Linked DNA regions of Homo sapiens: region 1 is linked to region 2. Evidence: promoter capture Hi-C in 16 types of primary human blood cells and fetal thymus (Javierre and others, 2016). All regions are on one chromosome and are shown on one strand. Each heading gives the region's core, a stretch centred on a gene start or on the middle of the fragment in contact. The rest is flanking DNA. Distances are from core to core; before and after follow the strand shown.

Region 1 (6,100 bases), core at 512-3,011, 920 kb before region 2:
ATCTTCTCCGTCCTTCTTAGTTTGGGAAGTAATCTCTTCTTATGAGCTCCTTCCTACAGGACCACAGTAAGAAAAATCTGTTACTGAGTATTCCTTTTCCTCACTAGACTGTAAGCTCCTCGAAGGCAGGATCAATATTAAAATTATCTTAGTTTTTGTCACTGCAGCATGTTATACATAATATATAGTTGACAAGTACTTAAAAAATGAATTGTTGGGCTTAGCAAATCAAACACACAATGGACCTCATTATAATGAATAAGGTATAAGAACAGTACTGGTTACATGGATATGAGTCCGAAGCGTCACAGTGTGACAGCCTCTTAAAGCCTGTTTCTTCCTTTGATTCATAAGATCAATGTCAACAAAGCCACAGGACTCATTTTTTTTTGGCTTCTAAGGCAATTTATAAAAGCTCTTTCAGTCATGCTTGCATTACCTTCAACAACTACCTGTCGTACACTCATATGCAGAATATTGTGGGGGTGGGCCGGGCACAGTTGCTCACTGTAATCGCTGCACTTTGGGAGGTTCAGGTGGGCAGATCACTTGAGGCCAGGAGTTCCAGGGCAGCCTGGCCAACATGGCGAAACCCTCTCTCTACTAAAAATACAAAAATTAGCGGGCGTGGTGGCCCGCGCTTATAATACTTGCTACTCAGGAGGCCGAGGCACCAGAATTGCTTGAACCAGGGAGGCGGAGGTTGCAATGAGCCTAGATTGAGCCACTGCACTCCAGCCTGGGTGACAGAGTGAGATTCTGCATCAAAAAAAAAAAAAAAAAAAAAAAAAAGAATATTGTGGAGGCTACAAACTTTCATAAAATACTATCTCTACTCTTCTAAGGCAGAAAGGGTTTTTTGATTTTATTAAGTGCCACCCTACCTAAAGTTATTTGAAAACCTGACAATACAGTAATAATGATTACAGCTACATACATTGAGCCATTATGTGCCGGGCATTGTTGTCTGTAGTTTTAACATATTGAGGCATTTAATCCTCCCAATAACCACGTGAGATGAACTAAATATTGTCCCCCTTTACAGATGATGGCAACTGAGGCAAAGATTAAGAAACTTACAAAGGTTTCATAATGTAAGAAGTGGATTTTGAAGCCAGGGAGTGGTTTGGTTTCCAGCTACACTGAGAAAAGAGACCAAGTCTTAGCGTATTTTTATCTCATAAAGAATCTAACATCTGTTTTCATGTAAAGTTCCGAAAAGACTGCACTATGCTTCATGCACTATGCTTCAGGAGTGAGGAGTGGGTAGAAAAAGCGGAATAGTTTTAGGTTTTAGTCACTCCAAAACATGATTCTGTACGAAAGAGTAGGTACTGCAAAGGTAGTGGCATACACATCCACCCCTGGACCATTTTCCAGCCGCCCGAACACCTTCCAGATCCTCGACACGGAGACCGGCTCCAGGGCCTTTATCTACCTGCAGGTAAACTGTCCAGGAATCGGGGGACGCAACCCAATCTGCAGTGGTAACGGGACCTCCCAGGTACCCTGGGGATCCCCCACAGGCGCGTGCTCTACCCAAAGCCGATATCCGCCAGGCGGGCGAGTCCGAACGCGACTGACAATTCCTTCTCCCCGACCCTCGAGAAACTCACGCCCCGCCCCTCAGCCGACAAAGCGCGGTGCCCCTCATACTTAGAATCTGCAGAGAACACAGCTCTCCTAAAGTTCAACTCGCTGCCGCCACAACGAACCACGCGGATGTTCTCCTCCTCCACCATCTTTGCGCAGTAGCGGAATGGCCAATCTCTGGTCCCGCCCTGAACTTCCTTCGTTGAGCCGGGTAATAAGGCTGTTCCCAGCCCACAGAACCCACCCCCGGGCCCTTCTAGGCCTGAGACTCGGTGGTAGGACTCCGCTTCCGTGCAGGCACCTTTTGTGTGGGCAATGTCAAACTAAGACACTTGTAAGAAAAGGTGAAAGCAAAACAGAGATTTAGAGACAATCAGTTTTTATTATATACCTATACACAATTATTTAATACAGACATATTTCTCTCAGGCCTTGTCAACCTGACTCTATGGCTTTTTCCGCCAGAAGGGAAAGGTGGCGTATAGTGTACCACGTGACCTCCAGTCGTCCCACCGGAGGCGTCGCTTTCTAGTGTCTGTGGTGTCGGCGCTGCAGGATGACGCGAGCCTCTCGCGTCCCTGGTTTTCTCGGTCGCAGCGTTGAGTTATTGGGTGGAAAGGTAGCTTTCTCTTCCTTGTACAGCTTTTTGTTCCTCTCATTAGCCGTTCTTCTGTTCTTGTGAACATCGCTTAGGTTACTACAGAATCTCCACAGTCCTAGGGCCTAGCTTTCTTCCTTTGGAAATCTGGCTCCTACTCCGGGATTCTGGTGCATCTTCCGCAGCGTTCAGTGTAGCTGCTCGGGCTAATCTGACATTCGGCCAGTCCCGCCAGGTTTCAGGGCGCTGGTCTCTGGTTTCCTGAGTTTTACCTTTTCCCATTAGTGAATAGAATCTGTGGGTTAGGAACCCCTAAAATCTCAACATGTTTATTTTTGCCAGTTTATCTCCAGTTTTCCTTTGTAAACTTACACGTATCATATTCTTGGACCCTGTATATTATGTTGCCTATTTTGATTTCGCTTCTTGATTTGTGGATTTACCACAAAATTACCAAGGTCTCAAATATAGTCACATGTCACATAAGGATCTTTCAATCAATGCATATAACATGGTGATTCCGTAAGATTATAATACTGTGTTTTTACTGTACCTTTTATGTGTTTAAATACACAAATACTATTCTGTTACAATTGCCTGCAATATTGAGTACAGTAACATGTTGTTCAGATTTGTAGCCTAGGAGCAATCAGCTATAACGTACAGCCTAGGTGTGTAGTAGGCTGTACCATCTAGGTTTGTGTAGGTACACTCTGTGATATTCACACAATGATGAAATCACCTAAAATGCATTTCTTAGAACATATCCCCATCATTAAGCCACACATGATTATACCTATAAGTTTATTTATGGTGGAGAAATACAATATTCACAAAGGTCAAGACATATCCTGGGACAGCACCACTGTAAAAATCAGGGATAAATTTACTTTTTACTGAGGAGTCTAGCTTATTAAAGTGCTCAAAACTTTATTATTTGGGGAGCCAGAACTAGAAAGGGAGATATTTAATAATTTTGGTTTATCTCAAGCTGTAACCAGCTTTCTCTTTCATGACTGTGATACCCTTTGTCACAGTGGATGGAGTGTAAAATATCACTTTTGATTCTGCAGCCTTAACCTCTTTTTGTTTAGTCTCTTGATGTATGCACAATAAATCTTTTAAAGACTTTGTTGGGTACTTTGTAACCTGATACAGGCTTTTCCTTAGGGCCTGAGCCAAGAAACAAAATAAATATTTTCACTCAAATTAGTGTGACTTTAGTTGTATGTTACTGTATGGTAACTTTAGATTTTTCAGAAAAGAATCAGAAATCCTGATATGGACAAAAACTAGCTGGATTGATAAATGTATAGGAGGATTATTTTACACAGAGTTTTAATTTACTGAAGTGCCCAGAAAGATAAGTCATTTGTATTTTGATTTCTTTTTACATAATTTTTAAGGAACCAATCCCACCTACAGCTGTTTAATTAATAGTGCGTTGTCTTTATCATGTAACAAGAAGGCTGAGGTAGGCAGAATAGGGCTAGTGCAGTGGATCATTCATGCCACCAGGGACCTGTGCTTTCTCTACTTTGTTCTTTGTGTTATTGTCCTTAACCATATTGGTTTTGTCCTTATGCTCACAGTTCATGTTCCTTTCAGTTAGAAGAAATAAGGGAATAGCAAGAAAGAGCATAGCCTATATACAGAAGGAAAAGGATTTTCCAGAAACACTTATTTGGCATCTTCCATCCAGGAAATATTTACTAAGTGCCTAGTATATGCCAGACATTCTTTCAGGCTCTGGGAATACTGGAGTGAGAAAAATAGTTAACAAAATCTGTATGTTACTGGACCTTACCTTATCATGGGAAGAAACAAAAACTTATTATACTTTTGATGTATTTATGTGCCAAGGGGAAACTCAAAGTAGAAAAGAAAGTGATTATAAGGGTTTGATCACCTTTATTATGGGTTTTCAGGGAAAGCCTTACTGAGAAGGTAACATTTGAAATAACCTGAAAAGGTTGAGAGTGTGAATAAGCATGGAGCTGTTTGGTGAAAGAGTCAGCCAGAGGAAAGAGTATTCCTTTCCATGTTCAAGATAAGTCAAGAGGCCAGTGTGGCTGGAGAATAATCATCAAGGGGGTATAGTAAAAGGTGAGGTCAGAGAGGTAATAAGAGGCCAGTTCATAGGGTCTCCTAGATCATTGTAACAGCTTTGGGTTTTACTCTGAAATTGAAGACAGTGTAGCCTTTGTGTTAAAAAGTGAAACGATTAGGCTAATTTTAAAAATTTACATACAATAAAATCTGCTTTCTTTGATATCTATGATGCACAAATTATCGTATCCACCATCACAAATAGGATACAGAAGAATTCCAGCACCTCAAAGAATTCCCCAGTATTTCTCCTTCCCCTCCCCAAGACCTATCCCCTGGCAACCACTAATGTTCTCCATCCCTAGTTTTGCCTTTTCCAGAAAGCCATGTATAAATGGTATCATATAGTATGTAACCTTTTCAGTCTAGCTTCTTTCAGTTAGCATATTGCATTTATGTTATGTGCATCAGTGCTTTATATTGCTGAGTGGTATTCCATTGTATGGCTATTTCACAGTTTATTTGTTGAATGTGTTTTACCCCCAGGTTTTAGAAATTATGCATAATACTTCTCTAAACATTCATATGTAGGTTTATGTGTGAACATAAGCTTTTATTTTTCTAGGATAAATACCAGCAAATGAGATTGCTCAAATCATAAGTGTATGTTTATTTAAGAAATTGCCAAACTCTTTTTTTCCCAGAGTTACTGTACTATTTTTGCATTTCCATAAGTAATGTATGAAAGTTTTAGTTACTTTACACCCTTGTCAGGACTTGGTATTGTCAAGGTTTTTTTTTTTTATTTTAGCCATCATAATAAGTTTGTAGTGGTATTTCATTGTGGTTTTAATTTTCACTTCCCTAATGACTAATGCTGAGCATCATTTTATATCCTCTTTGGTGAAGTGTCATCAAGTCCTTCACGCATTGCTTTATTGGTTATCTTCTTGTTGAGTTTTGAGCATTCTCTTTTAAAATTTTTATTTTTATTTATTTTTTATTTAATAAAATTTTTAAAAGCTTTCCCATTAGTGAGAAGGATTTAGTCACATTTTTACTGCTTAGTATCTTCATGTATGTTTCTGTTCCCTTCAACAGATATAAACACCATGTACAGTATTTCACACCACTACCCTGCATAATGTACATAGGAGACATCTTCAAGCAGATTACATCGATTTTGTATTAATGTCATGAATTACTTAGTGATAGGCCCTTGGGCTCTGCTATGTTTCCTCATTCCCTAATGATGGTGCAATTTTTATCTCTTCTTAGGTTTCCTATGATGCTGAAATCCTTATCTATCCCATATATTTTTCATTCTGCACTTTCTCTCTTGTATACCTCTGCCCTAGGAACCTCAGGCAGTTAAGTGATGATTATCACAAGCGGGTTATGTTCCATTTAAGGTTAACAGTTCTCATGGTTATAATTACACCTTTTCTGTTTTGGCTATGATTAAACCCATAGATTAAAATTGTATGATCTCTTGTACCCAGTGGCTAAAGCGAAATTTTAGAATGGTTTGAAATGTTGTTGCACAAAGTGTGGTCCGTGGACCAGCAACAGCAGTGTCACCTGGGAGCTTGTTAGAAATGCAGAAACTCATGCCCTACCCAGATATGTGGGATCAGAATCTGCATTCTAACAAGATCTGCAGGTGATTCCTATGCATATTTAAGTTTGAGAAGTACTACTTTAAAAAATAATCTAATGGCAGCTCTATATACAAATGGCTCTCAGTTGGTGCCTCCCACGGGCCAGCCACGTGCTTGATGCTTCATATATTTCTAATTATCTCAACAGCCCTGGAGGTGATATTTCTGTTCTATAGGTGAAAAACCTAAGACTTACTAT
Region 2 (6,261 bases), core at 426-2,925:
AATGCAAGACAGCGTTCTAGTCCTCTTGTATGTCACAGTTACTTGCACTGTGTATTTCACTGTAATTTAGGGCAGATGTGAATACACATGGTATAGCTCCGTCCTGGAGCACAGAGTGATTAAAAGTCTTTCTCTCTTTTCATGGCTTTGCACTGCCACACATAATAATATAATTAATGCATATATGAATGCCTTTAAGTGTCTGCCTTCCTATCCCAGGGGGTACCATTTGTTTTATTCCATTTTGGGTGGTATAATTTTTCAGCTTGCTGTCTGTCTTGCTCTACGAACTTAGGTTGCTATTTTTTGTATCCAGCAGTCTTACTGCTGCACGATACAACTAATTCGTGCCAGATAATTTTCTTTTTTGCCTTTAATAAATTTATTTTGCTTGAGTGTAGATCTTTAAAAATTATCCCAGCTCTCTCCCAAATAATATGAATTAATTTTGTTTATTTTCCCTTCATAATCTCCTTATATCAGCATAATTAAGCAATTTGAAGGTTTTCATATAGGAAGGCTTACAAAATAAGTCAGCTGCTCTCCCCCTATGTGAATGCGTCTGGATAAAGCAACTCTCATTATCAGCTGCAGAAGCATTCTCAGCTGGTTTCCTAGGTGCTGCTGTTTTCCAGGAACAGACTGAGCATGACTTCTGAAGCCCCTTCCACATCCAGACTCAAGCATTCCTGTGACCTCTGACAAGAACTGTGCAACCTTTTAAATTTTTTCCCCCTGAAACATCTACAACAAAACAACCACTATTATTAAACTTATCTATTGAGAAGGGAAGAAAGAATGGAAGAATTAAAGAAAGGAAGGAAGTAGGGGCTGAGGTAGAAAAACAAAGTGGAGAGGTAAGAAGGGAGTGGGGAGGAAGAAAGGAAGAGAGGGAAGAAGGACAGAATGAGATAAAGAAAAATAAAAATAAGCACAACATCTCTAATCTAGGTTTTCTGAAACTTTTCTCTCTTCTTCATAACAGGATGAATTAATTGTGCTCAAAACAGCTTCAGGTTCATGCAATCTAAGCTTCTTATTTCAAAGATAAGAACAGTAAGTCCCAGATAAGCTATGTACCATGGTCATAAAGTGGGTTTTTAGGAATTAGGCCTAGTAATTAGTTTTGCAGATATTCACCAAATAATTTTTTCTTTTATACAATATATTTTCTGCATTTAGAAAAGAAAATTCCCAGTTCTACCTTCATGCATATCAAGGTTTACACTGGTTATTGGCCTTGATTTTTGAACATATGTTACACAACTCTCATGCCTAAGGTTATATTCATTCAATCTATATTTTATTCAGTTTAATATTCTCCTTCCTGCCTTTCTTTTTTTTCCTAAAACTTAAGCTAACTGTATTCTATAGTTTGCATGCTCCCCTCTAAGTCCCTTTTCCTACTTACAGACCTCTTGCCTTCCTAATATTTCTAATTAATCTTAGGAAGATATGTTGATCAATCTACATAACATTATATTCTATTTTCTCCCTATTTACTACTTTAATGTTAATGCTTGAAGAGTCTTTTTTTGTAAATTTCTTTCAATTTTTGCTTCAGTGGATTTATTTCTTGGTAGATCTAGATGGATACAGTGATCTGCCATTAAACCCTGAATATAATAATCCAATAAAAAGTATTCAAAGGAAGTGATGCATAAGCATTTTGGAGAATGACTGGATGCAACAAACAAATATAACCAAGCCTTTGTCATCATAAAATGATGGGGAAGGATGGAGTAGTACTTGAAATAAAGTATTTGGTTAAATATATACTACTGATAAATAGAACTGTTAAAGAAAATTTAAAGGGAGCACAACTGAGTTTCAATCTTATTATATAATTTCTATCCATTTCTCAGAGGACTTTTTAAAAAGTGAAATTAAGTAAACTACTAATGGAATATAGAGTGTTAGGCAATAAAATTAATTTACTACTTCGGGCCTATTATTTGAAGCTATTCTTCTCTGGGGTTCTCATGTTTATATTTTTAATTTAAAGTATTTCTAATAATCCTGCGGGAAATGAGCGATGTTTATATATAATTAAATTAAGCTCTAAATGTTTTATTAATTAGGTAACTGATTGTGAAGACAAAATAGTGTTATACAACACAGAAAGAGTGAGTTCAAATGGAAAATCTACTAGGCTGAGACTTCACAAGACTTGACAGCAATTCCCAACGGCTACATTTTCTTGCAGTAATTTCGTGTAACTTTAATTTAGTTGTACTGCAGTGAGGGGATCTTCAGTCTAAAACTGGGTTCCAGGAATGCTGCCCACTGGGTATCTCCCAGGGAAATTGATAAGCTTTTAATCTATATATCAATACTTACTTACATGTAAACATCACAAATTGTGTATGAAATACATTCAGCCCCCAACATCTGTACTAGTTGTATTAATAAAATATATATAAATCACTATTAAAAATAAAATTCGTTCCAATAACAATGCTATTCAATACATAGAAGTTGAAAGGGTTTAAAATTACTACATTTTAGAAAATTTGTTTTATTTGTTGTTGTTTTTGTTTTTTTGTTTTTTGAGATGAAGTTTCCCTCTTGTTGCCCAGGCTGGAGTGCAATGGCGCGATCGCGGCTCACTGCAACCCCTGCTTCCCAGGTTCAAGTGATTCTCCTGCCTCAGCCTCCCAAGTAGCTGGGATTACAGGTGTGTGCCACCAAGCCCAGCTAAAACATGATTAAGAAATAGAAACTGCTGAACATGATTAGGAAATAAAGAACATGTTTTGATAAATATAGTATCTGAACCTTAAAAGGTTAATACTTATAAAAATAATTATATTTATAAAGGAAAAATTTATAAACTGTAAATTCTCTAAAAAATGATAGAAAGAGTGTAAAAAAGTCAGTTTTAAATTTTTTTGAAAACTAAGCAGGCATCATTAAACACAGAAGCATGAAAAATTCATTGTTGAGAATTCTTTAATTTTTCCATCAGCTTTTATTCTTAAATTTTAAATTCTTTTTTAATATCAGAAGCCATTACATTAATATTGCTGAAAAAGGAGTAAATATAAATAAAATGTTACCTTACATGGCAAATAAATTCACATACTGAATTATATAGATTTTTTTAAAAGTAGTCAGAATTCATATGTTAAAGAAAAATAAGCAGGAAATTAAAATGGAGATGTGTAAGTATGATCAAAGAGCAAGGTTCTTTTTTCTCTTTTTTTTTAGTAGAGCCACACCACCACCTACTGGCCATTGCGAGCCAGTAGCGCCAGGCTTGACATTTAAAAAATATTCTTAGTATACTTTGAATTGTAGCTTCTGACCCTTGACACACAAAAAAAGCAAAAAAAAAATATATATATATAAAAATAGATAAAAAGCATTGTTTTATTCATTATCATTAGTGTATGAATCATTACCCTTAGATATACTTTCCTGATATACAAAATGTTTGCAATCAGCACAGTAAAATTGCTTATTAAATACACTCCCTTTTGGAAGACATTTGAGAAAAAACAGCTACTATAAAATAAGTGTGCATTTTTAAACTATACTACCTAATTTTTTACCTTATTGTAGGTCACATTCTTTTATTAACAGAGTACATTTCTAAACATGAAACTCCATAGAAATACATACAAAATCCTGCAAAATATATGTAAACTCGTCATTGTTTAGAAAGCATTTGATTTCAAATATATCTTTACATTTGATCTATTCATTATTCAATTGAATTTTTTTTGGTTTTTGATTTGGGTTGACTGAATAAACAACCTCCTAGGCATAAAGAAATACTATGTGTAAATAACATTGTTCTTTCATAAAACATTCTGATTGTAGTGAAGTTGGATTCATGCCCAGAATCCTCAACATTTTAAAAGCATTTAAATAGAATCCTATTCTAATGTGTCCATAAACTGTGAGCCCTTTTAAATCCTCTTTTGGAATGATTAAAACTAGTGGCCAATAAAAGGCAAATCTGAATTATTACCTAATGAATGGTGGAAATAAATAGTTGGCTAATCCACTTTTTTCCCAAATGGGAGTGATATTATCTTCGGAGATTTTAGCATATTTACTTAAAACGATTAGTAAAATATTCTCATATAAAATAAGATGGATAAAATATTATTGACCTTTATTTCTTTACCCAGAATAGAAGTCATGCCAATTCAATTATTTCTCAATTTAAACACAGAGTGGATTCCACCAGATATGATATTCTCAAAGCAAAGTAATACCATTTAATGTCTCTGACTTTGCCTGGCACACTCAGAGGTCTAACCCTCCTTTAGAATAACCGGATGGTCCCTAAACCAAATAAAGTTAGAGAAGGGTTGTTTCTCCAAAAATACGAGAGCAACTATAGAGAATAACATTTAACTGTGTAAAAAAAAAAAGTAGTGATAATGTGTATTTTCTTATATGATAAAGCTGAGAATTCTGTTGAAGGAGTTTTGTAAATTTCAAAAGCTCAGTGACAACAATGTCCTTCGAGATGCGGAACAATTAGAAAAACATGGTGTGTAGCATCTTATGTAAGATTTTCTCAGGAAACTTGTTGACTAGGATATGTGGGGTTGCTTATTAAATGTCCTTCTCTCCTCTCTTAGTCTCACCAGTTTCCCCATGGCTACTTACGGACATTGCCAGATCCTGTTGGACCTGTAGATTAGGAAATCTTTAACATACAGTGTCACTGCAAAATTCTGGCTGGAATCAACTCTGACTCCACATTTTTAACTGGTGGATATTATATCTTAGCTTTTAAAGACAGTTGTTATGCCATTACTAGCTTTTGATTTGGGACATAGGTTCACATTATCCAAGCAAAGTAAAGGCAAGCTACAAAACAAATATTCAAGACACACTGCCATAAAATATTATTTTTAATATGACACATTATACCTTAGAAAAATGTGAACAGTATGCCATATTTTAAACACAATTTTGTGTACATGTTTGTTATTAAAAATGTTTCCTTGATATGATTACATTTGTTCAATAGTTCATTTTTAATAGGGTGAAGCTATACCTGCAGCAAAGCTGTTCATGCTTTGATCTCCATCAATCTGCTGAAAACATGACAGAGTCAATACACTTGTAATTTATTTGAAGGCCTTTCCCTACCTTTAGTTTCCTTACAGCATCTCTCACAACTTCTGTTCCTTTTGGCTGTTCCACTTCTGTACTGCCAAGAAACTGAAAATGGTCATTTGTGAGACACAGGCTTTTACCATATCATATATCATTGCATCATGTTGAAATATAAGATTGCATAATAGAATGGTTTAATAGTAATGCAAACTCATATGTTAATTAAATAGAATTATTATTTTATATTATTTTTATATTATATGAAAATGTAACTAAACTTTATCATTTATACTTCCTGTTAATCAAAGATTATTTTTAAAAACATACTTGTTTTCTAAATATTTTACTTGTAGATTTTTACTGGAAAGAAAACTAAAGTTATTTTATTAGGCCCAAGGGAATAATGTTGATCTCAACAGTTAAAATTTAGTAAACTTATTAGTAATTAAAAATTATTTTTCATTCAAAGCATGTAATTGTATTTTGTTACTATATTTAACATCAATAGTAAATTTCAAAGTTTACAATTTCTTTTTTTTCTCACGTCTCTCCCCACTTGCCTCTGCCTGCTGATGCCAAAGATTTCGCCATTAGCTTTTTTTTTCAAGTAAACATTTTTCTTTGTTTTCCACTTATGAGACTCATCTAACATGTAGAATTTAAAATACAAGCTTCTTTTAATAGCCAAGATATACAACTAAGTAAAGCTATAGTTAAAGAAATAAAACATACATGATCTACAATTGTACTGTTTTTTGGTTTTGTTTTAGTTTGGTTTTGTTTTTGAGACGGAGTCTCACTCTTTCGCCCAGGCCAGAGTGCAGTGGCGCTATCTCGGCTCACTGCAAGCTCTGCCTCCCGGGTTCACGCCATTCTCCTGCCTCAGCCTCCCGAGTAGCTGGGACTACAGGCACCCGCCACTGTGCCTGGCTCATTTTTTGTATTTTTAGTAGAGATGGGGTTTCACCGTGTTAGCCAGGATGGTCTCGATCTCCTGACCTCGTGATCCGCCTGCTTCCACCTCCCAAAGTACTGGGATTACAGGCATGAGCCACCACACCCGGCCAATTTTACTGTTTTAAATAAACCTGAAGGTAGTCAGTAAGTGATATGGTTTGACTGTGTCCTCACCCAAATCTCATCTTGAATTGTAGCTCCTGTAATTCCCATGTGTTATGG

What was found. Contacts are between HindIII fragments. The CHiCAGO score rates a contact against its expected background, and 5 or more counts as called.
Region 1: the fragment with the promoter of WDR75 here is called in contact with a fragment that was not itself captured in region 2 in 3 of 17 cell types (megakaryocytes, fetal thymus and erythroblasts); the score reaches 8.6 in megakaryocytes.

What each region holds. Positions count from the first base shown.
Region 1 is chr2:189,437,135-189,443,234 of GRCh38, reverse strand. WDR75 (WD repeat domain 75) reads right to left here and starts at 1,761. Exons shown (of 21, transcript NM_032168.3): 1 at 1,657-1,761. The coding sequence starts at 1,742. It also overlaps a transcript of COL5A2 not described here. RefSeq lists enhancers at 1,316-1,365, 1,386-1,615, 1,636-1,765, 2,026-2,245, 2,266-2,425 and 1 more. The HindIII fragment of the contact is 5,353 bases long and covers 1-4,852 here.
Region 2 is chr2:188,521,682-188,527,942 of GRCh38, reverse strand. It overlaps GULP1 (GULP PTB domain containing engulfment adaptor 1), which reads right to left. Exons shown (of 12, transcript NM_016315.4): 5 at 5,116-5,187. Among named protein-coding and RNA genes, the nearest start is that of MIR561, 230 kb to the right of the region's middle. The HindIII fragment of the contact is 1,282 bases long and covers 1,035-2,316 here.